Linked DNA regions of Homo sapiens: region 2 is linked to region 1. Evidence: promoter capture Hi-C in human tissues and cell types (Jung and others, 2019). All regions are on one chromosome and are shown on one strand. The core of a region is centred on a gene start or on the middle of the fragment in contact, and the rest is flanking DNA. Distances in the headings are between cores, read along the strand shown.

Region 1 (7,229 bases), core at 2,362-4,861:
GGCTTCCAATGACCTTTAAAGAAGTAGTACTATGTTCGCTGACCTAGTCTTCCTACAAAATATCTTTATTGATCAGTTTTTCAGCTTCTGATTAATGCTCAAGATGTATCTTGAGGCCGGGCATGGTAGCTCATGCCTATAATCCCAGCACTTTGGGAGGCCCAGGCAGGAGGATAGCTTGAGTCCAGGAGTTTGAGACCAACCTGGGCAACAAAGTAAGACCTTGTCTCTACAAAAAAAATAAAATTATCTGGGCATGGGGGTACTTGCCTGTAGTCCCAGCTACTTGGGAGGCTGAGGTAGGAGGATCACTTGGGCCCAGGAGGTCCAGGCTGAAGTGATTGTGCCATTGCACTCCAGCCTGGGCAACAGAGAAATACCCTGTCTTAAAAAAAAAAAAAAAAAATGTATCCTGAGAGCTGAGGAGCTGAGTATGGTGGCTCACTCCTGTAATTTCAGCACTTTGGGAGGCCAAGGAGGGAGGATCACTTTAAGGCCAGGCATTCATGACCAGCCTGGGCAACATAGTAGGACCCTGTCTCTACAAAAAATTTTAAAATTAGCCAGGTATGGTGGTGTGCACCTGTAGCCCTAGCTACTTGGGAGGCTGAGGCAATAGGATGGCTTGAGCCCAGGAGTTCAAGGTTACAGTGAGCTATGATCATGCCACTGTACTCTAGCCTGGGCTACACAGCTAGACTCTGTCTCTAAAAAAAAAGTTGTTGTTGTTGTTGTTTTTAACGATGTATCTTGAGCCAAATCCCCAAAACACACAAAGAGGAGCTGAAAATCATATAAACCTTTAATAAGCCCTTGGGACTTTCATTCTTAACAAAAAGGTCAACCAAATGCCCCTTCTTTTGGTCTACAAGTAGAGCTTTGATAACAGCCATTCTGAAGAGTACAGACAATTGCTGTGAATAAAGGATGTATCGCAAAGCCCCAGATATTTGCTTAGGAAATAATTATCAGAAGGACAGGTTTGGAGTGATAGATCTATCACTCATTCATTCAACAAATGTTTAGTGAGTGCCTACTATATGCCAGGCTTTGTTTCAGGTACTAGGAATATCTCAGTAAATTTTTAAAAAGTCAAAAAATTATGTTTGGATATTTATGTGATTCCCTGTTGCATATTTACAATGTGTGCTTCAACTTTTATTTAAACTAGATTCAGTGGGTTTCTTTTATTTGTATCCAAAAGGCCCTTTCTATAAAAGTGACACAGTAATAAGAGGTTACCATCCCTAATTACAGGAAGCTCCTACAAGTCAGTAAGAAAATGATTAACACAATAATATGAGGAAAGGAATGAAGTGGCAATCCACTAAAGTAACATAAACAGCCAAGAAATACAACAAAAGATTTTTTTACTAGTAATAAAAAACTATAAATAAAATTAAAAATTAAAGAAACAGGTTTTCTTTTTTGGCCTATCAAATTGATAAAAGTAAAAAGTACTTATAATATCCAGTGTTGGTAAGAATACAGAGAAAACTGACTCTCAGGCAGCGTAGAATATTAAATGGATATAACTTTTTTTGCAACTCAGCCATATTTATCATAACTGTAAATGTAAGTTCCCTTTGACCCCACAATTCTACTTCTATGAATTCTTCATCAGGTAAGGTAATTATGCACACAATAGGTGTGTATGTACAAGAATATTCATTATAGTATTTTTATGATACCAATAACTTGGAAACAATTGAATTGCACACTAATAATTAAGCAAATTATTATATTTCCATACAATAAAATACTATGCGACTATTGAAAATAATATAGACCATTACTTATGGACATATGATAGCTATAACTTTTTAAGTGTATTAATAAAAACAGTATCATCTTATTTTTAAAAATTGTATATTTATTACACATCTGTGTGAGGCATGTGACTAGAGAGATATATATGGAAAGAATTTTCAAAATGTTTATGTAGTATATGACAATTTTTAAATGAGCATTTATTTAATCAGTTAGCACTATTTATAAACACTTAATATGTGCTACGCATTGTGCTAGGTCCTGGAGAAACGAAAGAGAACAATCTATTAATTTAATCTGTTAATTTAGTCCACCAAATCAACAGTGTTTTTCAGAAATACGACAATAACCAGTGTTGATGAATTAGAGAAGGTAACCTCATATACTACTGTTGAGAGTATATGTTGGTAAAACATTTCTGGAGAACAATTTAGTACTTTGTTTTTTGTTTTTTTTTTTTTGAGATGGAGTCGCACTCTGTCGCCCAGGCTGGAGTGCAGTGGCACGATCTCAGCTCACTGCAACCTCCGCCTCCCGGGTTCAAGCGATTCTCCTGCCTCAGCCTCCTGAGGCACGCCACCACGCCCGGCTAATTTTTGTATTTTTAGTAGAGACGGGGTTTTACCATGTTGGCCAGGATGGTCCGATCTCCTGACCTCGTGATCCACCCGCCTCTGCCTTCCAAAGTGTTGGGATTACAAGCGTGAGCCACCGCGCCCGGCTTTTTTTTTTTTTGAAACAGAATCTCTATTGCCCAGGCGGGCTGGAGTGCAACGGCGCGACCATGGCTCACTGCAACCTCGATCTCCCTGGCTCAAGAGATCCTCCCACATCAGCTTCCCGAGTGGCTGGGACCACAGGCCCATGCCAACATGCCCAGCCTTTTTTTTTTATTATTCTTATTCTTATTCTTATTCTTATTATTATTGTAGCGACGAGGTCCCACTGTATTAAAATAATATAGTGATCTCAAACTCCTGGGTTCAAGCGATCCTCCGCCCTCGGCCTCCAATAGCGCTGGGATTACAGGCGTGAGCCACCACACCCAGTCTCTTTTTTACAAAGAATATAAATAGCCGGTGGATGTCAGACTATTTCGTTATGGAAAGATGCTCTCAAAAGACGAAATAGATAAATCGAAAGAAAGTGTCCATTTTTTCTCAGTGGCCTAATCTGTCAGGTACCATGCTTGGTTTTGGGGGCATAGAAAGACATTAGCGCCCTCATGGAGTTCAAAGTCTGGTGGAAGAAATCAATCATAATAACAATGAGGGGTTAACGACAACAGACCCTTGAAAGATAACATCTCCAGGGAATAAGGAAGAGCATTCCAAAGTATTTTGCCAAATGGCAAAAACCGCAGTTACTTTTGCACCAACCTTAATGCAAATAAAAGCATGTACACAAACAAGATACTCGAGGAAGAATACAGCTGACACACAGAAACGGATCGTTATCTTGTGGCTTTCCTGCAGCCTCGTTCCTTTCAGTCACATAACACCCCAAATCTGTGGACGGTTAATGAGAGCTAGTATCACCCAGAGTCACGGCTGTTGACTCGGACGACTTTAGATGCAGCCCGCCAGCGGGAGAAACTGGAGGGAATCCGCCATACACAGGAACCTAGAAGGGCTACGTGACAGGGGCTGCCCCGCAGCTCTCAGCCGCCGGCACTCCCAGCCAGGTTTTCCCGCCAGTCTCAGTTCCTAGATCTTCCGAGGCTCCGCCCGCCGCCGAGCGGTCGGAAAGTTTTAAGGAGGGGGAAGTGTTGCAAGCCTATCGATATCTCTGGAATAGACTGCGCTACCCTGCGCCGCCGCCGTCAAACTCCCGCAGACTTCTCTGTAGATCGCTGAGCGATACTTTCGGCAGCACCTCCTTGATTCTCAGTTTTGCTGGAGGCCGCAACCAGGCCCGCGCCGCCACCATGGTACGTTGAATCCCGATCTCTGGAAGGTTTAGGGCAGAGCTCTGGTGACTGGGGGATGACGAGCCACCTCTCCTGTCATCCTTAGCGTCGCCCGGTGCCACGAGGTATGAGAGCCTCGGCAGACGGCCGGGCTCCGGCAGTGATTCAGCATCTCCGGCCTGGCCGGGCTAGGGGTTATCGGTAGCCAGTGCGGCCTTTCCACCGCTTTCGCTTCCCGGGGAGCCTCCGACACTTCCTCCTCGGTCAGCTAGATGAGTTCGCCCCTCAGGTTCCTTCAGTGGAGTAGATTCTGAGCGGTCCAGAATAGCTCCTAGTGCTGTGTATGGGAGAGGAGAAGACAGAGACTTGACTTGGAGGCCTACCTGTACCACCAGTGCGGACTTGACCCCCAGGTTTGTGTTCCTGGACAGCGTCCGTTTTCCTGGTGGGTCCGTCTATTTATCTCTCGCCTAGACTTCGATTAGAAGAGGCCCTTTTCAATCATTTTGTCCAGTCACCTAGTTGCGGATGAGTAAGCCGAGGCTGAGAGGGGAAGTGATGGAATCAGGGTTACAATATAGGGTTCTGGGTTTCCAGTTCTGTCTGCCATTCTAGCACTCAATCTCACTCCCATGACTATTATTATAATAGTCGTAATAGCCGTAATGGTTCTATCGCTGCAGCTATTTGTGTCCACCTCTAACTTTGTGAGGACATTTTTGTTCATTCAATGTGAATATACAGACAGCACTTGTACAGGCATAACTACAGTGAACATTAAAAAATAAGTCATACATGTCCCTAATCATAAAAACAGAAAGGGACGTTTAGATAAAGAGCTGTGGGAGTATATGTTAGGGGGATTTGGGAAGAAAAGGAGAAGACTTCAAGAAATCGACATTTAAGCTACCTTAAAGAAAAGGAAGACTTTTAACCATTTATTAGGGCCCAATAAAAGGGAGCAGCATAAGCAAAAATAGGCAAGAAAGTTGATTGTGAACTTTAGTAATTGAGCCTAAAGGGGTTGATATGGAGGGTGTTAGAATAAGAGTTTGGAAAAATAGGACCCATTTAGATCTGCTTCTCCCTCTCCCACGAGTTTATGGTAAATGTAGAATTGGCTTACATCTGAGTACAGTAGTAATCTTCCAGTAAGACTGCATGAACAGAGTGCCTTAACATTGAATGGAAATACAAGCATATTTCTTAATGAATGTTAAGAGTTGGGATTTGAAATGTTCTTCTATTAACAGGTATTTTTTTCTTTTACTTTTAGTTTCGAAATCAGTATGACAATGATGTCACTGTTTGGAGCCCCCAGGTAAAATAATGTTTTTAAACCTTTTCTGTGAAGTGGCTTTTTGTGGCTGCAATATATTTAGAAACTTGTGAGAGCGTAGGCTTGGGGAAAATGGAATATAATTATTTTAGACGTTCTTGGAAGTTGCATTTATAATTAAAATAGGTTTCCTGATGGACCTAGAGGACATTATGTTAAGTGAAATAAGCCAGAAACAGAAAGAAAAATGTTTCATGCTCTCACTTATATGTGGAATCTTTTGTTTAAAAGGGCAAATATATATATAGAGAGAGTAAAACAGTGGTTACCAGGGTAGGGGGTGGCAGTGGGGAGGAAAAAAGAGGAGATACAAAGTAGCAAATATGTAGGTTGAGCAAGTGGAAAGATCTAATGTACAACATGAAGACTACAGTTAATAATGCAGGTAGTGTTTTGTATTCAAGATTTTTGTTAAATGAGTAGTTTATAGCCCTTGCCACAGCAGAGGAAAATGGGTAACTATGTGAGACAACGGATGTGTTCATTCTGCGATAGTGACCCTACTATATATGTGTATCTTATAACATCATGTTGCATACGTTAAATATACACAAGAAAATTTATTTTAAAAGAAGCTTTCAGCCGGGTGCAGTGGCTCATGCCTGTAATCCCAGCACTTTGGGAGGCCAAGGAAGGTAGATTGCTTGAGTCTTGGAGTTCAAGACCACCCTGAACAACATGAAACCCGGACTCTACAAGAAATACAAAAATTAGCTGGGCGTGGTGGTGCTTGCCTATAGTCCCAGCTACTGTGGACAGTGAGGTGAGAGGACTGCTTGAGCCTAGGAGGCAGAGGTTGTACTGAGCTGAAGATTGTGCCACTGCACTCCAGCCTGGGTGACAGAGTGAGAACCTGTCTCAAAAAAAAAAAAAGGTCTCTTGATTAAAAAAAAAATCAGTTGAGATTTAACTGTGCTCACCTGATATTTGAAAACCCTAATTTTTAATTTATAAAAGATCTTCTAAGATGTGTGTTTTTTGTTTTTTTTTTCTTTAGGGCAGGATTCATCAAATTGAATATGCAATGGAAGCTGTTAAACAAGGTTCAGCCACAGTTGGTCTGAAATCAAAAACTCATGCAGTTTTGGTTGCATTGAAAGTAAGTACAGTAATAAATATGTCTTCCTCTGTAGAAAACAATGTAAATTTCACCATAGAAAATAAGGTTGTAAACTTATTTTTACATTTGTCTCTTTTTTTTTTTTTTTTACATCTTATAATGTCTCTATTTAGAGGGCGCAATCAGAGCTTGCAGCTCATCAGAAAAAAATTCTCCATGTTGACAACCATATTGGTATCTCAATTGCGGGGCTTACTGCTGATGCTAGACTGTTATGGTAAGTATAATCATGAAAAATAAACATCCTTTTTGTTTCATAATTGATTAGTTTTCTCAAAAAGATCCAGATAAGGTATTTTAGGAAGTTGTCTGCCAAAGTTCTTGTAAATTAAGATTATGAATACCTTGGTGGTTTTGAGTTTGTTATTAAATTTTCCATTTTTTGATCCCTGTAGGAGTAACTAATAAGATTAAACATTAGCACTTTTCAGAAGTCACTGAGTAATGTGATGTTTGTTAATACAATGTATATCGTTTGAGACCCTGTTATGTCTAAGAAGAACGTGATACTTTTGTCTGGTTTCTAAGGACAAGCTGAACCACACTTGTTTTCTTTGTGCTTGTTTTCTTCAATACATCAGTATTTATTAGACATTTATTTTTTGCAATGCTCAATACTGGATACTGCAGGGTATACATAAGTGACTCAGACATGGATCTTGTCTTAAGGGAACTTGAAGGCAAGTTTATCTATAAACTCAAATGTAGTTTATCTATAATATAACAGAAAAATTTCTGTGAGAGTCTAGAAGAGACAGATTATTTATGGTTAAAAGGCAATACATAAATGAAGAGATAGGGCTTTGAAATTGCACATATTGAGTTCTCACCTTCACCACTTAGTATCTGAGATTTGGCTAAATACCTAAACACTGAATTTTTTCCAGTGTTTTCTTTATCAAGGCTATTTTTAAATGTTATTTATTTATTTTTTTGAGATGGAGTCTCACTCTCACCCAGGCTGGAGTGCAGTGGTGTGATCTCAGCTCACTGCAACCTCTACCTCCCAGGTTCAAGCGATTCTCCTGCCTCAGCCTCCCGAGTAGCTGGGATTACAGGCACCCGCCACCACGCCTGGCTAATTTTTGTAT
Region 2 (7,229 bases), core at 1,509-4,008, 100 kb before region 1:
GAGAGTAAATACCTTTACTTGATTTTCTAGTTACATAAGATACGGTTTCAAGAATTTAAGAGATGTGCCAAAACGGTAATAGCATAGATAAGATAAGAATAGGTACAAGATTCCTAATGTTCAGTTCTCTTTTCAAACAATTGACTAGGCAGTAACAAAATGGTCTCATTTATATGAATTAAGATTATGCTTTTGCTCCTTCAGGGCACACTTGAGTGATTTTCTAGTAGTGTTTTGCTCAAATGCCAAGTGTTATAAATTTGTAGACTGCCAGACTGTACAAAAGATTATCACTTAAGTAATAATAAAAACTGTAAATAGGGAAAAAAAAAAAGTGAAAGAACAGTTAGAGATAGAGGAAGTGATTCCTTTACTTTCATTTTATTTTCCAGCACTTCCTCTTTAAGTTAGCAAAAATAACGTTTTTTGAATTGGCATTTGCAGAAAACAGTTCATAGAACACAGTCAACATTGTATACTACATTTCTGTAGATCCAGTACAGGAGGTAGATTCTAAGTCTGTCTTCTTCATACCCTACCATTTTATCGTTAGCTAAGGTCTTATTCCCTGGTGGCACTGTGTTAGTTTGTATCCTCTGAGAAACAAATGCCAAAACAGAATTAGACGTGCAAGTGACTTATTGTGGAAAGTGCCTATGAAAGATAAATGGAAGATAGCCAGAGGAAGTGGAGAGAGCCTTCAGACTGTGATGCAAGTCTCACAATAGGGAAAGTGGGGAAAGGAAGGAGGATTAGGTAGAAAGAGCCTTATACTACAGCATCATTCTAAGAAAGTGTCAACCAGGCCAATGTGAGGTCCTCAAGCCAAAGTCTCCTATTAAAAGGAGTCCCTCATCTCACAGGAATGGGCCTACATTATACCCTTGCTGTTACTGACTAGGAGAAGCCCAAAAGAAGTATTGCCTCAGTACTGAAACAGGGGTGGATCCAGAAGAGTAATGGTCCAGTAGTCAATTATGTTCCCTATAGCAGAAGATTTGAGTGACAAATTTTCTTTTTTGAGATGGAGTTTCACTCTTTTTGCCCAGGCTGGAGTGCAGTGGCACAATCTCAGCTCACTGCAAACTTTGCCTCCCGGGTTCAAGTGATTCTCCTACCTCAGCCTCCCAAGTAGCTAGGATTACAAGCACACACCACCAAACCCAGCTAATTTTGTATTTTTGGTAGAGATAGGGTTTCACCATGTTGGCCAGACTGGTCTCAAACTCCTGACTTCAGGTGATCTGCCTGCCTTGGCCTTCCAAAATGCTGGGATTACAGGCATGAGTTACCACACCCAGGCTGAATGACAAATTTTCTTGATTGCCACAGTCCACCTCTTTCTCTGGACAGATCTGCTTCTCTATGCAAATTTAGGGAACACATCCTCCATGTTTCCTATGGGCTTTTCTTCCTGAGGGAAAACTTAGAAGGAAGTTAGTGAGATGAACTGGAGCCCCATTGCTGCAGTTGGGCTTGAGACTGCAACAAGGTACTTAACTTCTCCCACCTCTATTATCCATTCCAAGTCCTCTCAACCCTCAGCTATCACCTTGGCAAGTAATGGTAGCTTACCTTGTGGTGTGACCCAAACCTTCATTCCTGATGGGTCTGAGCTCTTGGCAGTCATACCCTTTTCAAGTCAGGGTCGTTGTACATGTCCTTTCACAGCTACAGTGGGCCAAAGGAGTACCAGCAGGCTTCCAAGTAGATGACATAGGAGTTGCATACATATTCCTATCCTTATTGTCTATAAGCAGCACTACCTTCTCCCAATGATCAGGGTTGATTACCCCTGCCAAGATGTGACCCTATTCTTGCCTGCAGGTCTCTGGACATGAGGTGTCCAAACTGCCCTGGCAGTATCTATAACATATAGTTCAATGAGACACTCACTGTCCCCTGGCAAGAGTGCACTCCCTCTCGGGACCTCCAGCCCTGCAGAGCCCAGAGTTGCACATATGGGGAGCCCAAAATCCCCCATTGAGAGTTATTGGGAGTGATGGTAGATAGGGCTAGTCCTGATTACACCCATCGATGGCCATTGTGTTCCTCCTGCTGATGACATGGTACCATATAGAGGTCTCTGAGTTAGCTCAGATCCCCATGTCATCTACCACAGTTGCAACAGCATCCCTTTCCCAGTTGGTACCTTTGGCTAAAATGGGGCTAGAGGAAAGGGTTCCCATACGACCAGCTAAAGGAAGAAGAATAATCCTGAGCTTCTCTCTGCAAAGGATGGCACTGCCTCCTTTGAGAGTGTTGCTTCTGAGCTGACGTTTCAGCTGTGCCTTTAGATAGCTGTTCCAGTGTTCTGTGAAGTTGGCTACTTCTAAATGATTTTGTTGTAGAAGATATAGCTAGAGCTCCCATGGTCATGAGTTCAATCCTGCATCTCCTTTACTGTGAAATGGGTCACCTGTTCAAATGTTTTTTGTGTGGTATTCTATACCCATAGATCAGACATTCTTTAAGCCCCTGGATTATGGTGCTGGCTAAGGTACTACAATCAGGAAAGACAAGCCTGTACCCAGAATAGGTGAAAACAACCCTCTAGCCCTTGTAGTTGACTTACCACCAAGTGGCCAGTTGGTCTCATTAATAAATAGTGATATAACAGCATTGATCTCTGTTGCTGACAGGTTGGACATTCAGAAGCAGCAGAAGCTAGGTCAGCTTTGGTGATGGGAGGTCCATGCTCCTGGGCCCATGCATAGCCTGTCTCTGGCAGCATGGCCACTTTTTTCTTATGCCAAAATGTCAGTTTCAGGGTAGCCAACAACAAAGACTGGCTTATATAAACTGGTCTGGTTATTATATCTGCTTCACTGTTCACAATCTCTTCCATGGTAGATGCTTTCTATTGGGCCATAATATGTCACACTAAACTCTTCATGTTTACCTGCATACCTCTACCCCAGAACTCCTTCTCTAAAATCTTTCAATTATTTTCTTTCCAGGCCCCGACCAGACAGCCAGGACATTGGCTATTTCCCAAGTCTATATATACTGGGCCACTTCTCATTCCACAAGAAGTCAATGACTAGGTGCACTTTTTACAGATCCACGCACTGGGAAGATTTTCCCTCTCCACTGTCTTTCAAGGCTATCCTTGAATGTGGTTGTAATGCAGCCATGGTCCATTTTGAGCTTGTACTCACATACAGAACAGACCCACCCAAAAATCAAGCTTAAGCTTTCCTTCTACTTCAGTTGGTCTTACGGGGCCCCCATATGGCCATAGGAACAAGCTAGGGAAGGGTGTTATTTCAGCTGTTGTGAATGACATGCTGGTCTGAGCTACCTGCGCATGCAATTTGCCATGTCCTTTGTCCTTCTCAGGCTCAATCCTTGATGTAATTTTCCATATTAAAGTAGACTACTGCTGGACCTATACAGCCTTGTGATTTAACATATCCAGCAGAACCAAACTTGTAATGTGCAGTTCTAGACCCATGGTCACTTTGTGCCCCATGGTGAAGCACTCTGCCTCTACCAGTCCCAGTAATTCACCAAGAGCTTTTTCTCAAAAGACATATAATTCTATGCTACAAATGGCATAGCCTTGCCCCAGAATTCCAGGGCCCTATGTTGTTATTCTCCCAATGATACTTGCCGTAAGACACTGCATGTTTTCCCACCACTGTCACCTACACCATGAGATGTGCTGGATTGTATGCCCCAAGTGGCAGCTCTGTTTGCAGTGCAGCCTGGACCTCTTCACTCAAAGCTGGCAACTTTCTATGTCACTCAATCTAGCAGTATTCATAGGTTTGGAATACGCCGCCTCCAGAACCCAAAGAGGCCTACCAGCCACTTCATTTCCTTCTTTGTGGTGGCACACGCAAGATGCAGCAATTTTCTTTTACTTTGAAGGGGATATCTTGTCATGTTTATGACCATTGCATTCCTAAAACACTTCATTGAAGTTTCAAATCCCTGAATCTTCATAGGATTTATTTCCAACCCTCTGGAACACTGTGTCTTACCAAGGCCTTTAGCATACTAGTGCCTTCTTGCTCATTCTAAACAATCAGCATAATGTCATCAATGTAATGTATCAGACGAATGTTCAGGCAGTCCAGATTTCTTCAGAGTATATTATGACAGAAGGCAGGAACATTAACATAGCTCTAAGTCAAAAGTGTAATTGAAAATTATTATCTAACCCACAGGAATGTGAACTGTTTCTGATCCTCTCTTCTAATTGGAATAGAAAAGAATGTATTTATCATATCAGTTGCCACATACCATGTGCCTGAGACCTCATTAATCTGTTCTATTAATCACACAGTGTCCGGCAAAGCAACTGCAATTGGGGCTACTAATTGCTTGACTCCGAACTCCTGAAAGTCTGCATAGGTACCCAGTCTTACATACTTTTCTGTCTAGAGCATCTAGGACCTAGCAGGTATTCTATATGTATTTTATGAATGGATTAATAAATTCAGTATGACATTCAAGAAGATGCCTACTAACAGGTTGATTTAGCTGATGACCCTAGCTCATAGGGTTATGAGGATTAAATGAGTTACTAAATGGAAAGTGTTTACAATAGTGTCTGGCACATAAAAAGCATTCAGTAAATCTTATCAATTGTATTTTTCCAGGCCGCAGAGAACCATCAGATATGATAGAGAGATTGACATTAAGCTAACTCCTTGACCATAAGTTTAAATGAAACATGAGAGACATGTGTTGGCCTTTAAAGTGAAAGAGTCTGCAATATTTTTCTGAGAATGTGAGGTTTCCAAGGAAAACTCAAAAGAAAACTGATTGTAAAGCTGGAAAGAAAGAATTACTTATAGAAACAGACACTTTCATAGCTAGTGGAGAGAAAAAGGTGGTTACTATGTGCCAATTCATTACTAGCATTGCTATATTTAGGATAATTTTGAGGGCCAAATGTGGTGGCTCATGCCTGTAATCCCAGCTCTTTAGGAGGCCAAGGTGGGAGGACAGCTTAAGCCCAGCAGTTTGAGACCAGCCTGGGCAACATAATGGGACCCCATCTCTACAAAAAAAACAAAACAAAACATTGAAAATTAGCTGGGGGTGGTGGCGCATGCCTGTAGTCCCAGCTACTCTGGAGGCTGAGCCCAAGAGGTTGAGGCTGCAGTGAGCTATGATGGTGCTACTGCACTCCAGCTGGGTGACGGAGGGGTCTCAAATTAAAAAAAAAAAGAAAAGAAAAGAAAGATAATTTCAGAAAAATCTCAAAGTTAAAATTTTTGACAAATGCTTTTTACTAATAAAGCAAAACATGATCTTGAAATAAAATGAATGAGTGCAATTATGCCCACTAGCCATTTCACAAAAATGGTGTTTTCCATTACCTAAATGACTATTTCCATATAAAAATTAATTAAAAGTACACTCACAGTTTTCATCTCTGACATAGGTCAATGTAACAGCTAATACAGGAAAATGAAAAGGTATAATAACAGGACATACACACCCCTACTCTTCATTAGAAGAAAAAAGAATATTTTTTCTTGTATAATACTGTGATTTGAGAGGCCTTAAAGCTGCTATTCTCTGACATTAGCTTTGTGGTCAAATTTAAAATGATCTTGATAACTCTCAGGAAACCCCAAGTCTCATAAAACTTTCCCAACAATTTTCACAATGAGAGCTGTGAAATAATTTCAGGGTCTCTAGGAAAGAATCCACACTTGCTACTTTTAAGAAAGCTAGGAAGTGGGTTGTTGGACAAGATCTAAACATGAATTCTTTCATCTACAAAAAAAGTTGAGCCACTATGAAGAATTTCCAGTGGCCACTCTGTTATCAATATCTCACAACTAGGTCTAGACGACCTCAAAACTTGGGAAATTGCTTTGCTGCTTTATTGCCAGTATCTCTGTCTTTACAGAGCCTTCCAGAATAGAATCACTAGATTGAATTTATTCCTCCAGTAAGTCAGTTGCTTATTAGCACTTTTAACATCCAGATGGTTTGAGACAAAGGCTAAACCAGGGATAATTCCCAAGTATAAACAGTGGAAACTCTCTTTTGCTGAGGGACTCTAGTCTACTGGGCTATGGGCCAGGGCATGGGTTTCTTTTGCAACATCCCAACACTGCTGTGGCCTTTTCTATAACCCTTGCAAGTGAAGTCACCTGAAAAGCCAAGAGTTAAACTGGCTGTACAGTCTGAACTGTGAAGTTTGGAAATAAATTCAAATGGACCAATAGCCTGGATCTGTTTCATGAATAAACAGAGGAGTTCAGGCTTAGGACCCTATAAAGTTAAGTCAATATTAGTTATAGAGGAAATCCTGTTTGTTCTTCTTCTGTTGTAATTGTCTTTTTAAAAAGAACTCAGGTAGAGCTTTGGGGTATGTTATAATGCTCAAAACATCCTTTAAACATACACATACACATACACACACACACACACGCACACACACACGAGTGTTTATAACCAAGAAGAAAGCAAATCACTGTTGTCCTTACTGTTAGGTACACGAGAATTAAAAGTGTTTGCTCAATATCCTTAAAAAATACAACTTAAAATGCCCTAACTTATGAAATGGGAAATACTTATCTAGGTTCTGATGCCATATAGTCACCTTATCATGATTATTACAATAAAGATAAGTAAGTGATTGCTATTAAAGCCCTTTAGTTATGCTGATTTGGCACAAATTTTTCCCAGTACTCATCACCTAGAAATTACACATAACAAGGTCTGAGTAATCCAGTGTTTAAACTTTGAGGGTACTAAGAGAGTGATTTCTAACCTCTTTGAAATTATGACACCCTATTTTGCCCGTTAGACATCACAACTCTTGCTCCTGTTATACTGTCTCCACACACTCAAGGAAAGCAATCTATTATATGATATAAAAAACACTTAAATGAATTTAAATTAATCTTAATTTCTTCAGGCTTTTACTTGTTTTTCTTTATAATTACCTCTTCTTTGAAGCTGAGTCACCCTAGGTTTAAGCCAGAATTAACCTCTCCTCTTCGTGTATTCTTTTAGCTCTTTATGTGGTATAAATCTATATTACAGATTTTTTTTTTGAGACAGGATCTCTCTCTGTCACCCAGGTTGGAGTTCAGTGGCACTATCTCAACTCACTGAAGTGTCGATCTCCTGGCTCCCCTACTTCAGTTTACCAAGTAGCTGGGACCACAGGTGTGCACCACCACACTCAGCTAATTTTTTTTATTTTTGTAGAGGCAAGTTTTCGCCATGTTGCCCGGGCTGGTCTTGAACTC

Evidence for each region. Contacts are between HindIII fragments. The study calls those that stand out against the background at their distance.
Region 2: a contact is called between a fragment that was not itself captured here and the fragment with the promoter of PSMA1 in region 1, in 2 of the 25 tissues and cell types used here (H1 embryonic stem cells and spleen).

What each region holds. Positions count from the first base shown.
Region 1 is chr11:14,516,768-14,523,996 of GRCh38, reverse strand. It overlaps PSMA1 (proteasome 20S subunit alpha 1), which reads left to right and starts at 3,611. Exons shown (of 10, transcript NM_002786.4): 1 at 3,611-3,700; 2 at 4,956-5,000; 3 at 6,016-6,117; 4 at 6,252-6,355. The coding sequence starts at 3,698. RefSeq lists enhancers at 3,480-3,669, 3,204-3,818. The HindIII fragment of the contact is 15,381 bases long and covers 1-6,576 here.
Region 2 is chr11:14,619,241-14,626,469 of GRCh38, reverse strand. It overlaps a transcript of PSMA1 not described here. Among named protein-coding and RNA genes, the nearest start is that of PDE3B, 21 kb to the left of the region's middle. The HindIII fragment of the contact is 6,392 bases long and covers 1-5,954 here.